Regions from separate parts of the Homo sapiens genome. Here regions 1, 2, 3, 4, 5 and 7 are each linked to region 6. Evidence: promoter capture Hi-C in 16 types of primary human blood cells and fetal thymus (Javierre and others, 2016). All regions are on one chromosome and are shown on one strand. Each heading gives the region's core, a stretch centred on a gene start or on the middle of the fragment in contact. The rest is flanking DNA. Distances are from core to core; before and after follow the strand shown.

Region 1 (2,700 bases), core at 77-2,576, 790 kb after region 6:
CCCCCGGAGGGACAGCTTGAACCAGTACTATGAGTTACGGAGCCCCCTGAGTGCACGTGGGGCCCAGAACCGTGAAACAAGACTACTCTGGAGGGCTGCCCAGCGCCTGCCTCGACTCCTGTGACCGCTGCGGGCACTCCTCTGGCTGCCCCTCCAGGGGAATCCCGGTTGAGGCCGCCAGCAGCCCCTAGGGACTCCACCTTCTCCATGGCCCCACTGGGGGGCTGCTCTCAGCGATCCTGACCCGCCTCCCGGCTCCACGTAGCCCCGCCCCTGGCCCCGCCCCCACCGCTGCCGGCCGGGGATGCTCGGGCTCAGTCCCGGGTCCACTTCTCCCCTGCTCCAGAGCTGCGGCGGGCGGAATCAAGACTATATAGAGACTCGGGCTGGGGGTCCCTCCGCTCGCCCCTTTCCTTTGTGTCCCACCCAAAGATTTTCTTTGTCTGGGCAATTTGTTCCCGCCCTTCTCCATCACCACCCTCATCCAAACCAGCCAATCCCAGTCAGGGGGCCAGGCCAGGAGCTTCGACTGTGACCTCACGGTCCTCCAGCCTGAGCTTGAGCTTCGGGGAGTTGGGCAGGGGGCTTGTTAATAGCTCTAAGGGAGATCTTTTGGGGTCATCAACGCTGTCGCTTGAAACGGCCTGTCGGGACTTCTTTAGACTCTTTGTGGTCTTAACATGGAATAGTTTGGTTGAGTTGGAGTTGAAGCTGGGCTTGACTTGAACTATCAGCGAGCTTCCCCCACCCCCGCCAGTCGGCTAGCTCAGCCAATCAGAAGAGGTGTGAGGCAAAGTGGAAGGACTGCCGCACTGTTGCAAGACACTTCGTCCTCAGTCGGGTGGCGGGAAGAGACTTTCACTACCGCTTCTCTGGGTCCTCCAGACTCGGCTCACGCTGCTTTGGAGCCTGCATCCCGAGGGGAGACACCCCCTCTTGCCGTAAAGCGAGTGCTTCAAGGTGTCACCGCCCCCTAGCGAGGGCGGGGTCGTCGGTGCCGCTGTCGCAAAGCAGAAAGTGTTTGGGCTCCAGCACCCCACCGTCGTAAAGATGCCTGCGGTGGGCGTGTCTTTCTCCCACTGTCGCAAAAGCTCCCTGCCCAGGTCTTCGTCCCCCTCGGAGCCGCTCCGTCACCTCGCTATGCCGTAAAGCGAGGCTCCCGACCCCGTGTCCTTCTGTTCTCATCGTGGTCGTCCCCAGCTCCTAGCGCGGGCTGCTTCATTGCCCGGCAGTGCCGTAAAGCATACCTGGCCTCAGCCCCCCGGTCGTATCCCTCGGACTGTCTGCCCGACGCGGTTGCCACGGTGCCGCCAAGCGCGGCTGTCGCGCTGCCCCGGTGTCAGCGGAGATGGCGGCAGGGTCGGGTGGGAGTGGGGGCTCTGGGGGAGGCCCTGGACCGGGGCCGGGCGGGGGTGGGGGCCCCAGCGGGAGCGGCTCAGGACCGGGGTCCAACGGGGGTCTGGGCAGCGGCGGGGAACTGCACCCGCGCACTGGGCGCTTGGTGAGCCTGTCGGCCTGTGGGCGTACGGCGCGGCGGCAGCAGCCGGGCCAGGAGTTTAACCACGGGCTGGTGTTGAGCCGAGAACCCTTGCGCGATGGACGCGTCTTCACCGTCCGCATCGACCGCAAGGTGCAGCGCTGGTACCGCGGAACAGAGATGTGGAGGGTGGTGGGAGGCGTCTAGAGGGAGACGGGGTAGGACAGCCAGGGTAGCCCACATTGCCGGGCACCGAGAGGGAACAGAAAGACCATAGAGCACCAGGGGGCGGTCAGGAAGACAGCATGAAGCAGAAACATTGAGTTTGAAGATGACATTAAGAGCTTGAGTTTTCTCAAGATCCAGAACCAGGGAAGGGACACGAGGGCTAACCCACTAGAATGGCTGGGAACAGACCTCCTGGTACAATTTCTTGGGCATGGAGGATGGAGAGATGTCAGAGATGTGATGGCAAGTGAAGAAAGATGCCAAGGAACGAACAAACGTAATCCCAGCACTTTGGGAGTCCGAGGCGGGCGGATCACTAGAGTCAGGGGTTTGAGACCAGCCTGGTGAACGTGGTGAAACCCCGTCTTTACTAAAAATACAAAAATTGGCCAGGCATGGTGGCGTGCGCCTGTAATCCCAGCTACTCTGGAGGCTGAGGCAGGAGAATGGCTTGAACCCGGGAGGCAGAGGTTGCAGTGAGCTGAGATCATGCCATTGCACTCCAGCCTGGGCAATAGAGTGAGTGAGACTCCGTCTCAAAAAAACAGAACAAACCATTGAAGGACAGAGGCTGTGCCAGAAAGATAGGTGAGGAGAAAGATCCAGGGTGAGGGAGGTGTGTGTGATTCAGTGAAGAGGCCAGGCTCACAGAAAAAGAACTTGGAAGGAGATTGAATCTGGGTAGAGCCTGATCTTTGGAGAGAATTAGGCCAGGGGAAAGGAATGAATGATACACAAGAGCAAGAGGTGTGGGTATAGGAAGTAGGAGAATTTGGATGGTTGGAGAGCCATAGAGACAAGGAAAGTTAGAGGAGGCAGGAGGTTGGAACCAAGGAATTTGTGCTTGGCTTGGAAAGGAGTGGTTTAGTAAACACTGAGTAGAGAGCAGAGTTGCTAAAGGAAAGCCCAAATAATTACCAAGACGGAGTCCAGAAAATCACTGTCTGCATCTCTGGATTAGTGTTCCAAGAGACAGAAAGCCAGCTAGCTGTCTG
Region 2 (2,700 bases), core at 152-2,651, 880 kb after region 6:
GGCTGGGGCGAGGGGTTTGAGGGTGTTGTGGATCCAACAGCTCAGGCAGAATACCAAACAAACCTTTTTTTCCCCAGGTGATGACTCATGGGATCTGATCACATGTTACTGTCGAAAGCCCTTTGCAGGGCGGCCCATGATTGAGTGCAGCCTGTGTGGGACGTGGATCCACCTCTCCTGTGCTAAGATTAAGAAGACCAACGTCCCCGACTTCTTTTATTGCCAGAAATGCAAGGAACTGAGGCCAGAGGCCCGGCGGTTAGGGGGGCCTCCCAAATCTGGAGAGCCCTGATGGCACCAACTTTAGCCTGGAACTTCCAAATGACAACATGATTTGGGAACTGAGCCTCAGGGTCCTCAGCCTATCCCCTGGAGCTTGGATACTGTCTGCACTTCAAGGCAGGAATTCTCAAGGGAGACTTGTTTGAAAATGAGTGTCTCACTTTCCCACCCTATCCTTCCTCCCCACTCTGTGGACTTGAAATTGAATCCATTACGGTTGGGGATGGGAGGCTGTCTGTGTCCCGACACATAATCTCTGTCTCTTGGACCTGCCACCATCACTTTCTGGGTCAGGATTGGAATTGGGATGGAATGGGACAGTTGTCTATAAAACTCTAGTGTAAATATTAGCACTCCCCTCCCTCATCTTTTCTTCTATTTCACTCCCCATTTATTTTCTTCTACACCGGTTGTATTTTTAATTTTGGACTTCCCCTATTGGGCATGGCAGCTCAAAGGTGGAGTACTAGAGCCTGGCCAAGTGAGGAAGGAAAGCAGAAAGGTGACGATTCTCACTCACCTCTTTTGTTTTTAATAATATCGGCCGCTGTTTGTACAGACAGCCTGCGTGTTGTAAATAAAGCAGAGTGGGCTCTTTTGTGTTTATAGCCCTCACTGTCCTGCTCGGGAGGGAGGCTTTGGTGGCTGAAGACTAGCTGGAGGTGGGGCTGAAACCCACGTCTCAAAGTCCAATCTGAAGATATCACAGCACTGGGCCTTTCCCACCCCAAGACAAGTAAGCCACCTTAGAGCTTTCATTGTATTTGGCCCTCCCCACTCGAGTCTAGGAACCCCCACAGTCCCCACCTTCACTCCCTGCACGCACACTCCTGCGGGTCAGAGTTGCTTCGTGCTCCATCGTGGGTGGGGTAAAGCGGGGTGGGAGCCGATGGTCCGTTTCCTGAAGGCACAGGCCAGCTTAGCCTGGGTGCTCAGAGGACCTCGGCTGGGGTACACGTTTGGGGGCTGGGAGACCGTTGCTGAAGGCAGCGATCATGTGGCGGGGGCACTAGGCGGAGTCAGACGGTCACGTGATTGGGAGGGGATCACGTGACGGAGGGCGGCTGAGGAGCGCGGGGTGGCTGCCTTTAAGTCACGTGACATGAGGAGAGGTGGGCGGGTACCTGGAGGAAGCTCGCGGCGTCGGTGGCGGTGGCGCGCGGCGGCCGCTGAGACCGGGGCTTTGAGTCGCACCCCGCGGCCCGCCCCCCGCCGCCACCCTCGCAGATCCGTGCTTTTTCCCCTTTGCTTCTCTCCCGTACTGGGTCAGTCCTGTCCGCGCTCGCGCGTCGGTTTGCGGGTGTGCGCAGGCGCGGCAGGGGCCATTAGCCCTTTGGGTGGGCGGTGGAGCCCGGGAGCGCGCGGGCGAGACCATGGCGGGTAGCAGCACTGGGGGCGGTGGGGTTGGGGAGACGAAGGTGATTTACCACCTGGATGAGGAAGAGACTCCCTACCTGGTGAAGATCCCTGTCCCCGCCGAGCGCATCACCCTCGGCGATTTCAAGAGCGTCCTGCAGCGGCCCGCGGGCGCCAAGTACTTTTTCAAGTCTATGGATCAGGATTTCGGGTGAGCGCAAGGCCTAGATAGGACCGGCGGGGGCTTTGCTAGAGTGGATTGGGCGACATGGAGGGGCACACGTCTACTTTGGGCCACACTGGGATTTTCTGGCCTATGGTGGAGCAGATTGTACTATGCTGAGGTAGGTTGACTATCCCAGGATGGACAAGGTTATGCTTGGATAGATTGAGGCACACGGACAGACTAGGATATCCTAAACCAGATTAGACAAGATTAGGCTTTACTGGAATAGGTGGGGGCATACTGGTTTATGTTGGAGTATTCTAGTCTGTACTGAGTAAATTGATCCATTGTCTGGTTGTTTAGTACGTTCTCAGGAGTCCTGTAACGCCTGTAATCCCAGCACTTTGGGAGGCTGAGGCGGGCGGATCACGAGGTCAGGAGATCGAGGCCATCCTGGCTAACACGGTGAAACCCCATCTCTACTAACTAAAAATACAAAAAATTAGCCGGGCGTGGGGGCACGCGCCTGTAGTCCCAGCTACTTGGGTGGCTGAAGCAGGGAGAATCTCTTGAACCTGGGAGGCGGAGGTTGCAGTGAGCCGAGATCGCGCCACTGCACTCCAGCCTGGGCGACAGTGCGAGACTCCGTCTCAGAAAAAAAACAAAAAACACTTGGGCCATTATGGACTCTACTGGGTTGTATTGGTTAATCCTGGTTTCTCTTGGGGCAAGACTTGGTTTTATTGGAGCACTCGGTATAGGGGCAGACAAGGCTGTTGGGGCCTGTGCTAGCACAGGCAGCCGTATTGGGATGTTCCAATCTAGACTGGTGCAGACAGCTGCGTGTGGGGGCATTGTAGGCTGTGCTAGAATAGATTGGGCTATCCTAGGGTAAT
Region 3 (2,700 bases), core at 121-2,620, 640 kb before region 6:
TTAAATAGGAGAGAAAGATGATTTTCTGTTTTGTTGTAAAAGGATCCAACCAGTTCTGATGGTTGAAAGCATCGTGAATGCGAAGGTCCACTCAATGTAAGCAGAGTTTCCTAACAATTGGACTTCCACAGCGACGGGATCTGCCTCCTCATTCAGTTGTGCCTTTCCCATCAGCGAGAGACTCCTAGGAGCCCATTAGGAAGCTGTGCCAGAACTCACAGGTTCTTTGGATGGTATCTGAGATAGTATCCAGCTCTTACATTTTTATTTTTTCCGAAAAAAATATTTTTGAGACTGAGTCTCACTCTGTCCTCCAGGCTGGTGTGCAGTGGTGCAATCATAGCTCACTGCAGCCTCAAACACTTGGGCTGAAGCAATCCTCCTGCCTCAGCCTCCCAAGTACTGGGACCACAGGTGTGTGCCACGATTCCTGATTACTTTGTTTATATTTTGTAGAGATGACGTTTTGCTATGTTGCCCAGACTAATCTTGAACTCCTAACCTCAAGTGACGCCCTGCCTTGGCCTCCCAAAGGAGGGAGATTATGAGCAGGAGCCCCTGGGCCTGGCTGAGATTTTCCCCTTAGTCTTTTTATACACAGGATATTTTATTCATAAAATACATAAATAGTAGGCAAATTTTGGGGTCAAGTGAAATAGATATGTTGTAATAGTTGATATATAGACCAGAGTTCCTTAGCTGAACTGGAGGGCAGGCTTTAGGTGATCCATGGATGCCCTGAACTTGTGGACACCATTGAAAATCTGTACGAAACCATGGACAGTCTCCTGTGATTTTCATTCCTCAAAATGTCTCTTGGACTCAAAGATGCCTGAGAGCAAAGGATGCATGTTCCCCTACTATAGGATCCAGGATAGTGAATATCAGTAAACATTCAGCAAAAAAGCTTTGCCACATTGAGTACTTCGACGTAACGTCTCCATTCAACAAGTCAATTTACCCAGGATCTCCTGTATATGTTAATCTCACTCTTGGAAGGACTCATCATTCTGCTTACCCTAAATTTCCTTCCACCTTCCTCCCTCTCTCACCAGACTAGACTCTGAAATGGGAAGGAGAAGCGGGGAGGAGAGCCCAACACCCCCTCAAGTTTAGAGTGGAGAGGACACAGCCTCTGCTGGGACAGGGAAAAGAGGAATGTGGAGACCCTGAGGATGCTTTTGGACAATGCTCAGAGGTTGGGACATTGCCAGGAGATACCGTTCACCCCGGATCTCCAAGAAAAGAGATCAGTCTGGCAGTTACATGTGTTTTTCTTCAAAGTAGTTGCCAGTTTGGAATGACCGATGACATCAGAGATTCCGACTTTCCTGATTGGAAGGACCGGACTCTGGTTGCTTGGGAGTTCAGGTGGACAACAGCAACTTCTCAGAACTACTCTTCACTCCTAACTTCTCCCGAGCCTCTAGAAGAGAAACGCACTCTTCTGGGTCCTAACGGAGTCTGGAAGAAGGCTTTGGACAGAACAGGGACTAGGTTTTGTGGACAGAAACAAAGTGTTTGGGAGAGATTATGGCCAGTGGTCAAGCGCGCCCCCCGTTTGAGGAGGAGAGCCCCCAGCCTAGCACAACGGTACGGTCCCCCGAGGTGGTGGTGGATGATGAAGTGCCAGGACCATCAGGTGAGGTGACTGGAGGGAGAAGCGATGGGAGATGATTGACTGAGGAGAGGGAAGGGGGCCAGTTACTGGGAATCTGAAGCACCTGAGTAGGGTGTGTGGGAAAGAAACGACGGACTCAGGAAGCCAGGGATCGGGGAAGGAGGGTGCAGGGAATGGGGCCAAGCATGGCCACGTGTAAAGAAAGTCTGGGGAGCAATGAAGGGGGTCAGGAGATGTGCTCAAAAGATGAGAGAGGAAGGCCGAGGCGGACGGATCACGAGGTCAGAAGATCGAGACCATCCTGGTTAACACGATGAAACCCTGTCTCTACCAAAAATACAAAAGTGAGTTGGGCATGGTGGTGCGTGCCTGTAGTCCCAGCTACTCAAGAGGCTGAGGCAGGAGAATCATTTGAACCCAGGAGGCGGAGGTTGCAGTGAACCAAGATTGTGCCACTGCACTCCGGTCTGGGCAACAAGAGGGAGACTCCATCTCAAAAAAAAAAAAAAGAGAGAGAGAGAGAGAGAGCAGACAGAGCTCAAGGGAAGGTTTCCATTTTTCTCCAATTGAAAGTTCTTATCTGTGATGAGGAAATGTTTTGAGGACAGAGAGCCGGAAGAATGGGGAGGTGAGGGAGAGGCAGATGGGGATCAGCAAAGGAGAAAGGTGGAAACATGGCTTGGAGAAGCTGACAGTCTGCGAGGCTTGGGAGGATGGAAGAGTAGTTTGAGGTTCCTGGGTCGGGGCGTCTAAGGTGATCAATGGCAGAAACATGACACCATGGCCTGGTTTCTTCACTCAGCCCCTTGGATAGATCCCAGCCCCCAGCCTCAATCCCTTGGCCTGAAAAGGAAGAGCGAATGGTCAGACGAATCCGAGGAGGAGCTGGAGGAGGAGCTGGAGTTGGAGCGCGCCCCTGAGCCCGAGGACACCTGGGTGGTGGAGACGCTGTGTGGGCTCAAGATGAAGCTGAAGCGAAAGCGAGCATCCTCCGTGCTCCCTGAGCACCACGAGGCCTTCAACAGGCTCCTTGGTAGGAGGATACCCCAAAAAGCACCTCCAACCCTGTTCTTTTAAAA
Region 4 (2,700 bases), core at 149-2,648, 810 kb after region 6:
AGTTGTTTCCGAAATGATCCCCCTGCCAAACACCTCGATCTTGGTTCCCAAAGAGAACCCAGGAACCCAGCCTCTCCTGGAAGGCCCTCCCACTTTTCCCAGGATGCATCTGTCCTGTCGGCTTTTCAGGCCGGGCCAGTACAGTCAGTAGAAAGTGGGAGAGGTGGGGGGTGGTGAATGACAATAAAATGAAAGCAAAAGGTTGGTAGTAGTGAGTAGTAGAAAATCATACTAGGCTAGTAGAGTTAAGGACTTCGAAACCGTGGAACTCCCAAACCAGTTACAACAGGAAGACAGTGACAAGGTGAAGAACGCCTATCACGGTGGGAAACTCATCTGCCTGAGGCTTTTAGGCGCTGTCCACCCAGGCCGACAGAAAAGTTGGGCTCCTGTCCAAACGCCCTGTTTCCCCATTTCTCCGGCCTCCCAGCTCGAAGGGGTGCCACTTACACCTGGCTGACCGCCACACTTCACAGGAGGGTTTTTCAGGAAAGCTCCTGGGGCCCTTGAGGTTGGGAAGCGCTAACATATGCCTGCAGCAGGCCCTCCGGGGTGATTAGGACCCGAGCCTCCGGCTTCCACTCCTCAAAATCTCAGGCCCCCTCGGAACCCCCGCGAGGACTAGCTCCCCGCGCTAGGGGCTGCCGGCTCCTGCCGACCATGTGGCCGTTCCGGGCTTCCGGTGGCCGGGACCTGGGGGGAGGGGTCCCCGCGCTGCCATGCGGCCCCGGTCCACGCTTGGCCATGCGGCCTGCGACCCCGAGGGCAGCCTCCCGTGGGGGGCACTTCCGGTGCCGCGGCCGCCCCCTCCTCAGAGACTGCGCCAGGCCGGAGCCACGCCGCCTCCCCTCCCCCCGGCCGTCCGCCAACCCCCCCCATCATGCCCTCTCACCGAATAGCCCCCTCCCCCACCTCACGTGGCCGCGCTGAGCCGGGTCCTCAACGGCCCAGGTACCCTTGCCCCGGTGGGCCGATCTGGCCCCTGGCCCTCGCCCCGGCGTGGCCGCCTGGCGGCCTCTCCCGCGTGGCTGCCTCGCGGCTCGCCGTCCCCCGCCCTGCGTCGCTCCAACGTCACCGGGCCAACCCCAACCGTCACCCCGCGCGCCAACCGGGGCGCGCGCCCGCGCCTCTCCTCACCTCGCGCCGCTCTCTGGCCGAACCCGTGCGGCGGCGGCCGCCGCTCCCCTCTGCCCCCTCCCCGACCCCCGCGCAGTTCCATCTTCTCCCGGGCCCAAGCCAAGGTACCGCGCACACGCGCCCTGCCCGCTCTCACCTCGCGCGAACGCACTGACTCGACCCCGTCCGCTCGCCGCGAGCCCAACCGCTGCCTCCGAGCCCGCTGCCGCCGCCGCCGCCGCCTCTACCGCCGCCGCCGCTGCTGCACACGGGTCTTAGTACGCAGGCGCCGACTCCCCACTGACCAACCAAGCAGCCCTATGACAGCCGCGCAAGCGTGCTATCTATCTCCTCCGCCCTCCACCCCCGCACTGCGCAAGCGCACACACCCTACCCATCTCCACCCTCCCTCCCACCGACCCGTCCAATGACGCGCATACGTGACCCCGCCCCTCACAAACCCTGAGCGTTTTCAACTAATCTGCAACGCGCAGGCGCACCCGGTTTTTTAATCTCTTCAACCTCATCTTCCCTCCCCTTGATAGACCGCTCGTCCTACCGGGCAGTCCTTGCGCCTGCGCAATAAGGAGCCCTGCACTCCACACCCTCTAAAGGAAACGCCTGGGTCTCAGAACGCATGCGTGTTCGGAATCCTAAACAACCCCTTCCACCTCAGACGCCGTCAGTACGCCAGGCGTTGAAAAGACCACGCCGCTAGATCACTTGTCTCGTCTAGAACGCATGCGTCTCAGGATACGCCCCACCTCGGCTTTAACTGGACTTAAACGACTCACACGTTTCAGAAAACTTGCTCTGTGGGGTGGGCGCCTTGTCTTGGAATCAGTCCCCCCAGTTCCACACATGCGCGGGAGATGTCTTTCCGCCCCACTCTTCTAGCGCGCTAGTGTGGTCGGGTTCCCACCCATCTCGGCTTCACTTCTCTAAATCGAATGCCTATGCTCTGCCATAGAGTTCACCCGAGAAGATAGAGCGGTCCTGCGGCGGACACCATCTTCTTTAAACCCTCAGTCCGTATTGGTCTCTATGGCATCCATAGAGGCCATTCGGCTCTGAGGTCCTCAGTAAAGAAACTTAGATGGTATTACTGTGTTTTCCCCAACTGTGCTCTGCGGTTCCCCAAAGTATTGTCTACGAGGTCCCTTAGAAAAAATTGTCTATAAAAATGAGTGGTGGGCCGGGCGCGGTGGCTGACACCTGTAATCTCAGCACTCTGGGAGGCCGAGGCGGGCGGATCACCTGAGGTCGGGAGTTCGAGACCAGCCTGACCAACATGGAGAAACCCCGTCTCTACTAAAAATACAAAATTAGCCGGGCGTGGCGGCGCATGCCTGTAATCCCAGCTACTCGGGAGGCTGGGACAGGAGAATCGCTTCTCCTGTGGAGGTTGCCGTGAGCCGAGATTGCGCCATTGCACTCCAGCCTGGGTAACAAGAGCGAAACTCAAGTCTCAAAAACATAAATAAATAATACATAAATAAAATAAAATAGTGGTAGGCCGGGAGCGGTGGCTCACGCCTGTAATCCCAGCACTTTGGGAGGCCGAGGCGGGCGGATCACAAGGTC
Region 5 (2,783 bases), core at 34-2,533, 710 kb after region 6:
GAGAACAGGGAACCCCGCAGTAGGGACGATAGAGAAAGGAGGGGGCAACGGGACAGGACTAGATTGAGGATCCGCTGGTTCCGTGGGCCGGCTTCGAGGGACCAGAAGGCGGTCCAGGCGGAGGATCCTAAGGATCGGGTGCTGGAGGAGGAGTCCACGTTAATCCCCAGGGGCCCGGGGCCCGGGAGCGCAGGATCCGCGGTGCAGGGGCAGGGATCCAGCCGGAATCCTCGGGGAGGGGGAGGGATCTAGTCGATCCCGAGGGCGGGCGTGAGGGGGAGGTCCGGGGAGTCAGAGGAGGGCGGGAGCCGAGTCCAGAGCCCCGGGGCGGGGGTCAGCGCGGATCCTAGGAGGGAAGGCGGGGGTGAGGGGAGGCTTCGAGGGACGCTCAGCAGCCGGGAGGCCCGGACTCCTGGCTCCGCGCGCCAGGGCCGGCCCGCCCCGCGTCCATCCCAGCCCGAGAGTGATGATCCGCCGGCGGAGCAGCCGCAGCAGCCCCGCGCGTCACCGCGCGGCCGCCTCCCCCGCCCCCTGCCGAGAGAGCGGCGCACACCCCCCGCTCGCACCCCCCGCTCGCACCCGCCTGCCCGCCCGCCCTCCGGAGAATGGGGGGATTGGAGATGGTGGGAAGAGGCGGGAGCGGACAGACGGACAGATGGACGTAGCGGGCCAGGGCAGGGTGGAGACATTCCCCCGGATCTCCCACCCTCGGGGCTCTCGCGGTCTCGGAGGGCTGGCGGGGGGGAGAATATCTTAACTACAGGGGGCGGGGCATCATACAAAGAAGGCGGAGCCTTCAGACATGGGGGAGGGGCCATTTGTGCAGTGGGCGGGGTTTACTGGCAATAGGTGGGGCTTTGCTATCTTTCGGGCCGCCTCTTTTTGGTAGTGGGTTTGATTTGAAGCTGAACAGGAGGAGCCTGTGGAAAAAGGGGCGGAACTTTGAGAGAAGACCGGGATCTTTGGAAATTGGCCGGAGCATGGGGGTGGGGGGTTCGAAGAGGCGATCAACTTGGAAAGTGGGCCAATCCTTGACGCAAATCCCCCTAGTCCCGCCCTCAACCCCGCCCCCCCACTGCTTAGCTCCTCTGTTCCTAATTGGTGCTGGTTTCTCCGCCCGCCAGACGTCTTCGCCACTCTGCAGCGGTTTTACAAAGGCGGGTGAAGAGCGCAATGCTGAAATGAACACGGCCCGGATTGGGCGCCTGTGAACCTTATTTGCATGGGCGGTCGGGATTGGCTGGCCTCTTGGGTGGCCTGGGCGGCGTTGGTCCGGTGCGTCCTGTTCTACAGCTATGGCCGGGCCAGCTGCAGCTTTCCGCCGCTTGGGCGCCTTGTCCGGAGCTGCGGCCTTAGGCTTCGCTTCCTACGGGGCGCACGGTCAGGGGGCTGGGGACGAAGATGGGACTGTACTTGGGGCGTCCTCTGGGGTCTGCTGCAAGGGCGTAACCTATGGGAGGTGCCCGGCCTCTCGTTTATCAGACAGTCCGCGGAGCCCTAAACCTTTTAAAGTCCCCCAGCTGGGTCCAATTGGTTCCCAGTACTGCCCGAGCGTGTTCCCACCAATCGGAAGCTTCCTGGGGCGGGGGGGGGGGTGCCCTTTCTCGCCAATGTCCACCTGGGTCCCCCCGGATTGGGGGCGGTCAGGGCTGGCACTAGGACCGCTAACCTTTGCTTCTTTTCTCCACAGGCGCCCAATTCCCAGATGCCTACGGGAAGGAGGTGAAGTAACTGCGCTGGGGCTCCCTGACTCGTGGGTCTACGAAGGCACAAAGTCTGGGGTCCCTGGGGGAAGTGGGCGGGGAGAGGGTGGGGCGAGCCGCGGATCTCTGGAGCAGCAAAGGCCAAAGGCTCTGTAAGCCAAAGGCCTGGGATCAAGCTGGGACTTCAAGGGTGGGGTGGGGGAAGGAACTTTGGTCCCTTGTGTCATCAGGGGATCTCAGTACCTGTATTGCCTACGACATCCCTTCGTTTCTGTTTTTCTTACAGCTGTTTGACAAGGCCAACAAACACCACTTCTTACACAGCCTGGCCCTGTTAGGGGTGCCCCATTGCAGAAAGCCACTCTGGGTAATCTTTCCCTGCGCCTAACCCTGACCAAGCCCCACACACTCCCTCTCAGCCTGCCCTGTTCTTAACAATCCTGTTTTCTGTGCTGTGTCTCCTTCAGGCTGGGTTATTGCTAGCTTCCGGAACGACCTTATTCTGCACCAGCTTTTACTACCAGGCTCTGAGTGGAGACCCCAGCATCCAGACTTTGGCCCCTGCGGGAGGGACCCTGCTACTCTTGGGCTGGCTTGCCTTGGCTCTTTGAGCTCCCTTTTGCTTAATTACTGGGTTTTCTGGGCAGTTTTTTTTTTAAAGAGTTGGAGTAAGAAGAGGATTAAAAAGGAAAGGCAAATAAACTTTGGAGTCTTTGTTCATCTAACCTCTTGGAGGACGAAGGGTGGGGATTCAACCTCTGAACTCCCTCCATTTCCTAAGACTTAATCAGTGAGCCTTAGGTCTGGGGATTCTGGTCACTTTAAGTTAACTTATTATAATGTTCTTACCCTGGTGGGCATCAAAGTCATAAAGAATGCTTGAAATAACACAGATTCCTACTGAAGCACTCTTTCGGGCCTGAGAATCTGTATTTTAATAAGCTCATCTTGTGGTTCTGATGCATACTAGGTTTTTAATTTTATTATTATTATTATTATTATTTTGAGATGGAGTCTTGCTCTGTCGCCCAGGCTGGAATACAGTGGCGCGACCTCGGCTCACTGCAACCTCTGCCTCCC
Region 6 (2,741 bases), core at 14-2,513:
GTGCTAACCATTACACCATGGAACCTCCCTCGTGGTGTCTTTCAAGATTGTGTACATTACTGGACATTCTATTTTGCGTGTCTTCCACACCCGTCACTTAAAACGAAAACAAAACAAAGTCTGCTGTTGGATATGGTAGACACCGTTATCGAGCACTTGAAATATATGAATTCAGATGTATTGCCAGCTTCTAAATACACATCTTCTTTTGAAGGAAGGCTTTGTACAAACAAAAAGACTTAAAATTTCATTAATATTTTTAGAATGTTGATTATATGTTAAAATAAGATTTTGGTATATTAGGGTAAGTAAAATAGATCCGTGAAATTAATTTCGCTTGCTTTTTATTCTTTGTAATGTGGCTACCAGAAAATGTAAATTCGATAATACGGCTCGCGTTTGTACTGTTTTAAAGTATGTTTATTACCCTCCACCGTCGTTTGCTGTATTTTGTGGAAATCAAGTTTCTGTATCACCTAGCTTTAAAAACTAGTAACTATTTTTGTTACCATTTTATGCGAAGTGCGGTACCCAAAAGCAAAGACATGCCGCCCGAACAGGGACTTGAACCCTGGACCCTCAGATTAAAAGTCTGATGCTCTACCGACTGAGCTATCCGGGCTCTTCACGAGAGCTTTACTTTTTGCTTATAAGAGGGTTCTCTATAGGAAAAGCCAGGCTTGTAGAACCGACAGAGGATTTTATCTGTGCAGCATAGAATATTTTGGCACAGATTTGGAAGCAGCGGGTGAAGCTCGCCTGCTGCTGATTGAGCTTTTTCTGCCTCCCGTTCTTAGAGCCCCCGCCGAGGCTGCGACGCAGGGACTGTACCATAGTAGAGGCTGGAACAGTGCGGCGCCGGAACCGGCCGCGCGGGGCCGCTGCGGGCTATGGGCTTCTCTGAGAGGTTCCTCCCCAGTCCCTAGTGGCCCAGATCCCGGACACCTGGGCTCCCGCCCAGGATCCTGCAGGCCCAGGGCGGTCCTGGAGCGGAAAGAATGCCACGCGGGGCATTCAGACCCTGTTTGCCGGCGCTGTATTTCGCTTTCCTGACCTGCCCTACTCCAGAGCAGAGAATGAGGTCGGGCGTGCCAAAGGCTGGGGACAAAGAGGGCCATGCGTGGGGGGATCGGTGTATGGGGTGACAGGGAGCTGTTCCTGACCATTTGACATGTGCTGGAATGCGTGTGCGACTCACCTGCGTGTGGCTGCAGTCACGTGTGATTTATGACCAAGTGCAACTCTCCACTGTTTAGTGATTCACACGGATGATTCACACGTAGGAATGCAGGTGCCCTGTGCTCATCTCTGCCTGGGAATGGGGAGGAACAGATCTTGGGGGACATTGGGGAGTGGGCGGACAAGCACTCCAGGGCATCAGTCCGGGCCGCTGACCAGGCGGAGGGCAGTGTCCCAATTATACAGGCGTTACCTCCTTTTCTCCATCTCAGCATCTGATCCCTCCCTCCGCAGTGGAACCCAGGCTCCTGATATCCATCTGGGTGAGCCAGCCAGAGGGACCGGCTGTGTCAGAGGCAAGCAAACAAGTATTAGAGTGCAAGACTGTGGGCGGAGAGAGGAAGCCCGAGCCGCCAGCAGGGAGCTTCGGAGAGAGAAAGCCCAGGAACATCCCAGAGAGAGCTGGGCCCATCCTCAGCCCTACCCAGCCCCGCAGCCCCTAGCCCTCCGCCCAGAAACCCAGCCCTGTCCGGCGTGCCGCTCTTCTCCTCCAGGCCGGCTGCTGCTGCGGCCAGCGTTGCCGGGGCATCCCTTCCTCCTTCCCATCATGGCAGTGTACCGCCTGTGTGTGACCACTGGTCCCTACCTGAGGGCCGGCACACTGGACAACATCTCTGTCACACTGGTGGGCACGTGTGGTGAAAGCCCCAAGCAGCGGCTAGATCGAATGGGCAGGGACTTCGCCCCTGGATCGGTGAGTACAAAGGAGACAGGGAAGCGCGACCTCAGAGGGGCAGGGGCCGCAGGCGGGAGGAGTATTCCTCCTGGACTCTTGAGATCCTGCTGAACTCAGGATACCGGCCCTGACCTCCTCACCTTCCCTATTGAGGTCCCTGTCTTTCCTGGAGATGATGAACTCCATCCAGGCAGGACTGTGGAGAGGAAGGAGCGTTGGACAGGGAGTAGAGGGACTTCCCCTGGCTCCTAAACTCCTCCCATAATTGACCGTGGGCTTTGGGCAAGTCGCTTCCCCTCTCTGAGCCTGGGTTTCCTCTTATCGAGGGGATCTGCCTGCCTCTGCCAGCCCCAGGTGGCCTCCACAAGAGTTCCCAGCCGGCCTAGGAAGCTAGTGAAATGCAGTGCCCACTGTGCTCGGGCACCTTTTTCTTTTCTTTTTGAGATGGAGTTTTGCTCTTGTTGCCCAGGCTGGAGGGCAGTGGTGTGATCTCAGGTCACTGCAACCTCCACCTCCCGGGTTTAAGCGATTCTCCTGCCTCAGCCTCCCAAGTAGCTGGGATTACAGGCGCCTGCCACGACGCCCGACTAATTTTTTGTATTTTTAGTAGAGAAGCGGTTTCATCGGGCAGGCTGGTCTCAAACTCCTGACCTCAGGTGATCCACCCGCCTCGGCCTCCCAAAGTGTTAGGATTACAGGCGTGAGCCACCTCTCCCGGCCCGGGGAAGCTTTTTCTAATTCATACAAAAGCCCGGTATGGGCTGGGAGCAGCTCAGGTTTGTATGCCCGAATAGGCTTAGGTGTAGATGCATCTTGCAAGGCGCAA
Region 7 (2,713 bases), core at 70-2,569, 700 kb after region 6:
ACAGATCACCTCCTCTCTCCTTTTTATTTTTTTCCAGTCACCTCCCAGTTAGGGAACGGTACACCCAATTCTTGCTTGTCTCCTCGGCAGTGCTGGATCCAGAGGCTAGGGGGTAGCAGCCGGACAGGGCCTCCACCTCCCGGGTCAGTTCCCGAAGCCGCCGTCTCATGTCCCGGGCATCATACACTATTCGGCCTGAGGAGCGGTGCCGGGAAAATTCAGGGATGACTGCTGGGCCCAGGGTGGGAGCTGGGACAGGCTGGTACTGAGCCGCCTCTGCCTCTGGCACCGCCCCCTCCCCACCGTTCTTGTGGCTAGGAGCCTCAGGGCTGGGAGGTGGGGGGTTCACAGGATACACATAGGCCCTTAGGCCCAGCTCGGACCATATGCCTGTTTTGAGGGGCCTTTCCTCTACGGTAGGCTGGAAGCGGATGGTCTGGGGAGGGGACTCTGGGGCATCCTGAGACCAGGGAACCCAGGTCCCCTGAGTGTGTTGGAAGCCTTCCCAGTCCTCAGGGACATCCCAGTGGTAGGAGCAGATGGCTGGGTACTGATGAGGCTTCTCGTCATCAGTGTCAGGAGCCCAAGCTACTGGGCAGTGAGCACAGCGTGTGGGAGAGCCTCGACGGCGATGGCGGTGAGCTGGGGGCGGGGACACAGTCATCATCACAGGGTCCATGGTGCACCGAAGATGGACTGCAGGAGAACTCTGCTTCTTAGGGGGCTGGGTCTGCTTTCTGAGTAATGATGACTTGGGAGCTTCTGTGGATGGGGGAGAGGTGAGACTAGTGGGGAGGCCAGCTCCTACAGGCATGGAGAGGCAGGGCCCAGGAAGGGCAGCCACACAGCTATGTTGTCTGAGAGGGGCGAGCAAGAAGGGAAGGGGCTAATTTAGGGCTGAGGCTAGAGCACTTGGTTTCTGCCCCTCCTATGTCCCAGCCCCCAGACCTCTTACCTTTCTCACAAATGGTATCATGGAACACTTGGTATAAGACACCACGGAATCGGCTCCAGAGCTAGGTGGGGGAAGACACAGTGATCCCAGGTAGGCCCTGGCCGGCAGGCCTGCCCCCCACTATCCCACCAGCTCCCTCCCATCTGGCCCCACCCTGACCAGGGTCACTATATTGATGCTAATGTTAATGCAGATGATGAGGCCCAGCAGCAACAGGACAGAGTTGCCCAGGTCCTGGCAGCTGTTGCTGTTGCAGTTGTGATACGAGGCCCACTCGGGCCTCGGCCGCTCAACCATGGCCATGGGGTCCCTAGGACCACCGGGGCCCTTACGCCCCCAGCCCACCGTGCCGACAGTGTCCACTGACTGCCTGCCTGTCCCTGAGGGTCTTGGGAGTGAACGGGTCACAATGGTGCCAGGCCACTCCCTTCCAGTGTGCCAAGGGGCTACCCTGAGTCCTGGACCCGTGGCTGACCCTCTCGCCTGAGTCCAGGCCTTGGCAGAGGCCATGCCTCTCACCTCACATACCTCTGCTGAGCTAGCTGCCTACACCAGCCCACTGGGCCTCTGGCCTGTTTGACATCTGCCCCCATCAGCCTTTGTCCTTCCATTATAGAACGACACCAGGCTCCAGTCTCGGCATAGACACGGGTCCTGACATTCATTTGCCAAACAGACCCATTACCATGGCAACCAGACCCCAGCACACACTCCCCCTTCCTCTCAGACCTCAGAGCTGGTCACTGAAAAGACCCCTCCTCCCTCGTCACTTCCCCAGGGCTTGTTTCTTTAGAGACCGCCCTCCCCACAACAGAGCAGGCACAACCAACAGTTAAACTTTTATATTTACAATATTCTCTTCATCTTTTGCCAGGTTTAAAAATGTGTACAGAGCCGCAAAGGGTTGGGGTAGGGATAAGGGATTGTCGGGATTGTTTTGGGGAGAGGAGCTGGGCATTGGAGTCCGTGGCTGAATCATGGGGTCCCCCAGCCCCCCTCCCATGCCCCAATTCTGAGGGCATCTGTCTACAGGGTTCAGGGCCCAGGTCTCTAGCATTTGGAGGGCATGGCTGTTTGGAGAGGAGCTAGACCAGGCAGGGGAAAGGATCAGAAAATAACTAATTTTCCATGGATGGAGGTAGGAAGAGAAGGGACAGTCAAGAGGCAAAGTTCTGGGGACTCAAGACCAGGGATTCTGGATTTGGGTGTCAGTGGAAGACAGCACCCCAGCCCCTATTCAAGTTTGGCACTAACACCCCACAAAATGCCAGCAGATGAGGACTCTCCCCTCGTCCACTGTGTCCCTTAAGCCCTTCCAGACATCATTCTTTTCCCAAATGCCCAAGCCCAAGGCCCTCCGGGGAGTCACCTCACACATTTCAAATTATTCCTGCTGGTGTCTGCCCAAGCCCTGTCCCCACTGCCCCCTCCATCTGTTCCCCAGCACCGCTGACCTCATTCTCCCAACCTGTCCGGTGAGACCTTTCTCCCCACTGCCTCCCTCCACCATTCAAGGCTCCTTTCTTTCAGACAAGGAGGGGGCGTGGGTCAGAGGAGGGTGGTCAGCTGAGGAGAAGGCTGGTCTGACACTGAGATGGGGACAGCTTCAAAGAGGGGGACGGAGATGAAGGGGAACGGAGAACTGAGGCAGGGTGGGGGAGACATGGTGAGGAGAAGGGGCACAGGCGGGAGCCCCCTCACCTGCCACATCCCTCGCCCTGTATCCTGCTTGCCCTTAGTTTCCCCTGCCCTGCCTGG

The links. Contacts are between HindIII fragments. The CHiCAGO score rates a contact against its expected background, and 5 or more counts as called.
Region 1: a contact is called between the fragment with the promoter of NEURL4 here and the fragment with the promoter of ALOXE3 in region 6, in 2 of 17 cell types (activated CD4 T cells and non-activated CD4 T cells). The highest score is 8.1, in activated CD4 T cells.
Region 2: a contact is called between the fragment with the promoter of DVL2 here and the fragment with the promoter of ALOXE3 in region 6, in 6 of 17 cell types (activated CD4 T cells, naive CD8 T cells, total CD4 T cells and 3 more). The highest score is 9.6, in activated CD4 T cells.
Region 3: the fragment with the promoter of SPDYE4 here is called in contact with the fragment with the promoter of ALOXE3 in region 6 in 8 of 17 cell types (neutrophils, M0 macrophages, total B cells and 5 more); the score reaches 19.7 in neutrophils.
Region 4: the fragment with the promoter of EIF5A here is called in contact with the fragment with the promoter of ALOXE3 in region 6 in 1 of 17 cell types (total B cells); the score reaches 6.7 in total B cells.
Region 5: a contact is called between the fragment with the promoter of TMEM256 here and the fragment with the promoter of ALOXE3 in region 6, in 1 of 17 cell types (erythroblasts). The highest score is 5.5, in erythroblasts.
Region 7: a contact is called between the fragment with the promoter of SPEM1 here and the fragment with the promoter of ALOXE3 in region 6, in 1 of 17 cell types (naive CD8 T cells). The highest score is 5.1, in naive CD8 T cells.

The regions. Positions count from the first base shown.
Region 1 is chr17:7,327,961-7,330,660 of GRCh38, reverse strand. NEURL4 (neuralized E3 ubiquitin protein ligase 4) reads left to right here and starts at 1,326. Exons shown (of 29, transcript NM_032442.3): 1 at 1,326-1,630. The coding sequence starts at 1,349. RefSeq lists enhancers at 1-41, 922-971, 1,002-1,181, 1,117-1,411, 1,394-2,053 and a silencer at 1,382-1,621. The HindIII fragment of the contact is 8,367 bases long and covers 1-2,700 here.
Region 2 is chr17:7,233,218-7,235,917 of GRCh38, reverse strand. It overlaps DVL2 (dishevelled segment polarity protein 2), which reads left to right and starts at 1,401. Exons shown (of 15, transcript NM_004422.3): 1 at 1,401-1,849. The coding sequence starts at 1,656. PHF23 (PHD finger protein 23) reads left to right here. Exons shown (of 5, transcript NM_024297.3): 5 at 78-880. The coding sequence ends at 292. RefSeq lists an enhancer at 1,204-1,253 and a silencer at 1,364-1,663. The HindIII fragment of the contact is 14,867 bases long and covers 1-2,700 here.
Region 3 is chr17:8,757,216-8,759,915 of GRCh38, reverse strand. SPDYE4 (speedy/RINGO cell cycle regulator family member E4) reads left to right here and starts at 1,370. Exons shown (of 7, transcript NM_001394956.1): 1 at 1,370-1,642; 2 at 2,424-2,654. The coding sequence starts at 1,534. The HindIII fragment of the contact is 1,936 bases long and covers 910-2,700 here.
Region 4 is chr17:7,306,326-7,309,025 of GRCh38, reverse strand. EIF5A (eukaryotic translation initiation factor 5A) reads right to left here and starts at 1,398. Exons shown (of 6, transcript NM_001970.5): 1 at 1,274-1,398. RefSeq lists enhancers at 1-231, 1,462-2,272, 2,102-2,401, 2,273-2,700 and silencers at 702-821, 912-1,081, 1,442-1,551. The HindIII fragment of the contact is 13,725 bases long and covers 1-2,700 here.
Region 5 is chr17:7,402,597-7,405,379 of GRCh38, reverse strand. TMEM256 (transmembrane protein 256) reads left to right here and starts at 1,283. Exons shown (of 4, transcript NM_152766.5): 1 at 1,283-1,380; 2 at 1,691-1,722; 3 at 1,990-2,070; 4 at 2,171-2,405. The coding sequence starts at 1,296. The coding sequence ends at 2,314. TMEM256-PLSCR3 (TMEM256-PLSCR3 readthrough (NMD candidate)) reads left to right here and starts at 1,249. Exons shown (of 10, transcript NR_037719.1): 1 at 1,249-1,380; 2 at 1,691-1,722. It also overlaps a transcript of NLGN2 not described here. RefSeq lists a silencer at 475-804 and an enhancer at 1,295-1,474. The HindIII fragment of the contact is 6,317 bases long and covers 1-1,575 here.
Region 6 is chr17:8,117,036-8,119,776 of GRCh38, reverse strand. It overlaps ALOXE3 (arachidonate epidermal lipoxygenase 3), which reads left to right and starts at 1,263. Exons shown (of 16, transcript NM_021628.3): 1 at 1,263-1,291; 2 at 1,474-1,933. The coding sequence starts at 1,787. It overlaps TRK-TTT3-5 (tRNA-Lys (anticodon TTT) 3-5), which reads right to left and starts at 622; the gene lies at 550-622. TRQ-CTG1-5 (tRNA-Gln (anticodon CTG) 1-5) reads right to left here and starts at 25; the gene lies at 1-25. RefSeq lists a silencer at 127-176 and enhancers at 697-796, 947-1,016, 1,097-1,176, 898-2,097. The HindIII fragment of the contact is 2,695 bases long and covers 1-2,645 here.
Region 7 is chr17:7,418,930-7,421,642 of GRCh38, reverse strand. It overlaps SPEM1 (spermatid maturation 1), which reads right to left and starts at 1,319. Exons shown (of 3, transcript NM_199339.3): 1 at 1,115-1,319; 2 at 956-1,016; 3 at 11-762. The coding sequence starts at 1,258. The coding sequence ends at 38. NLGN2 (neuroligin 2) reads right to left here. Exons shown (of 7, transcript NM_020795.4): 7 at 1,783-2,713. RefSeq lists an enhancer at 1,316-1,835. The HindIII fragment of the contact is 12,172 bases long and covers 1-2,713 here.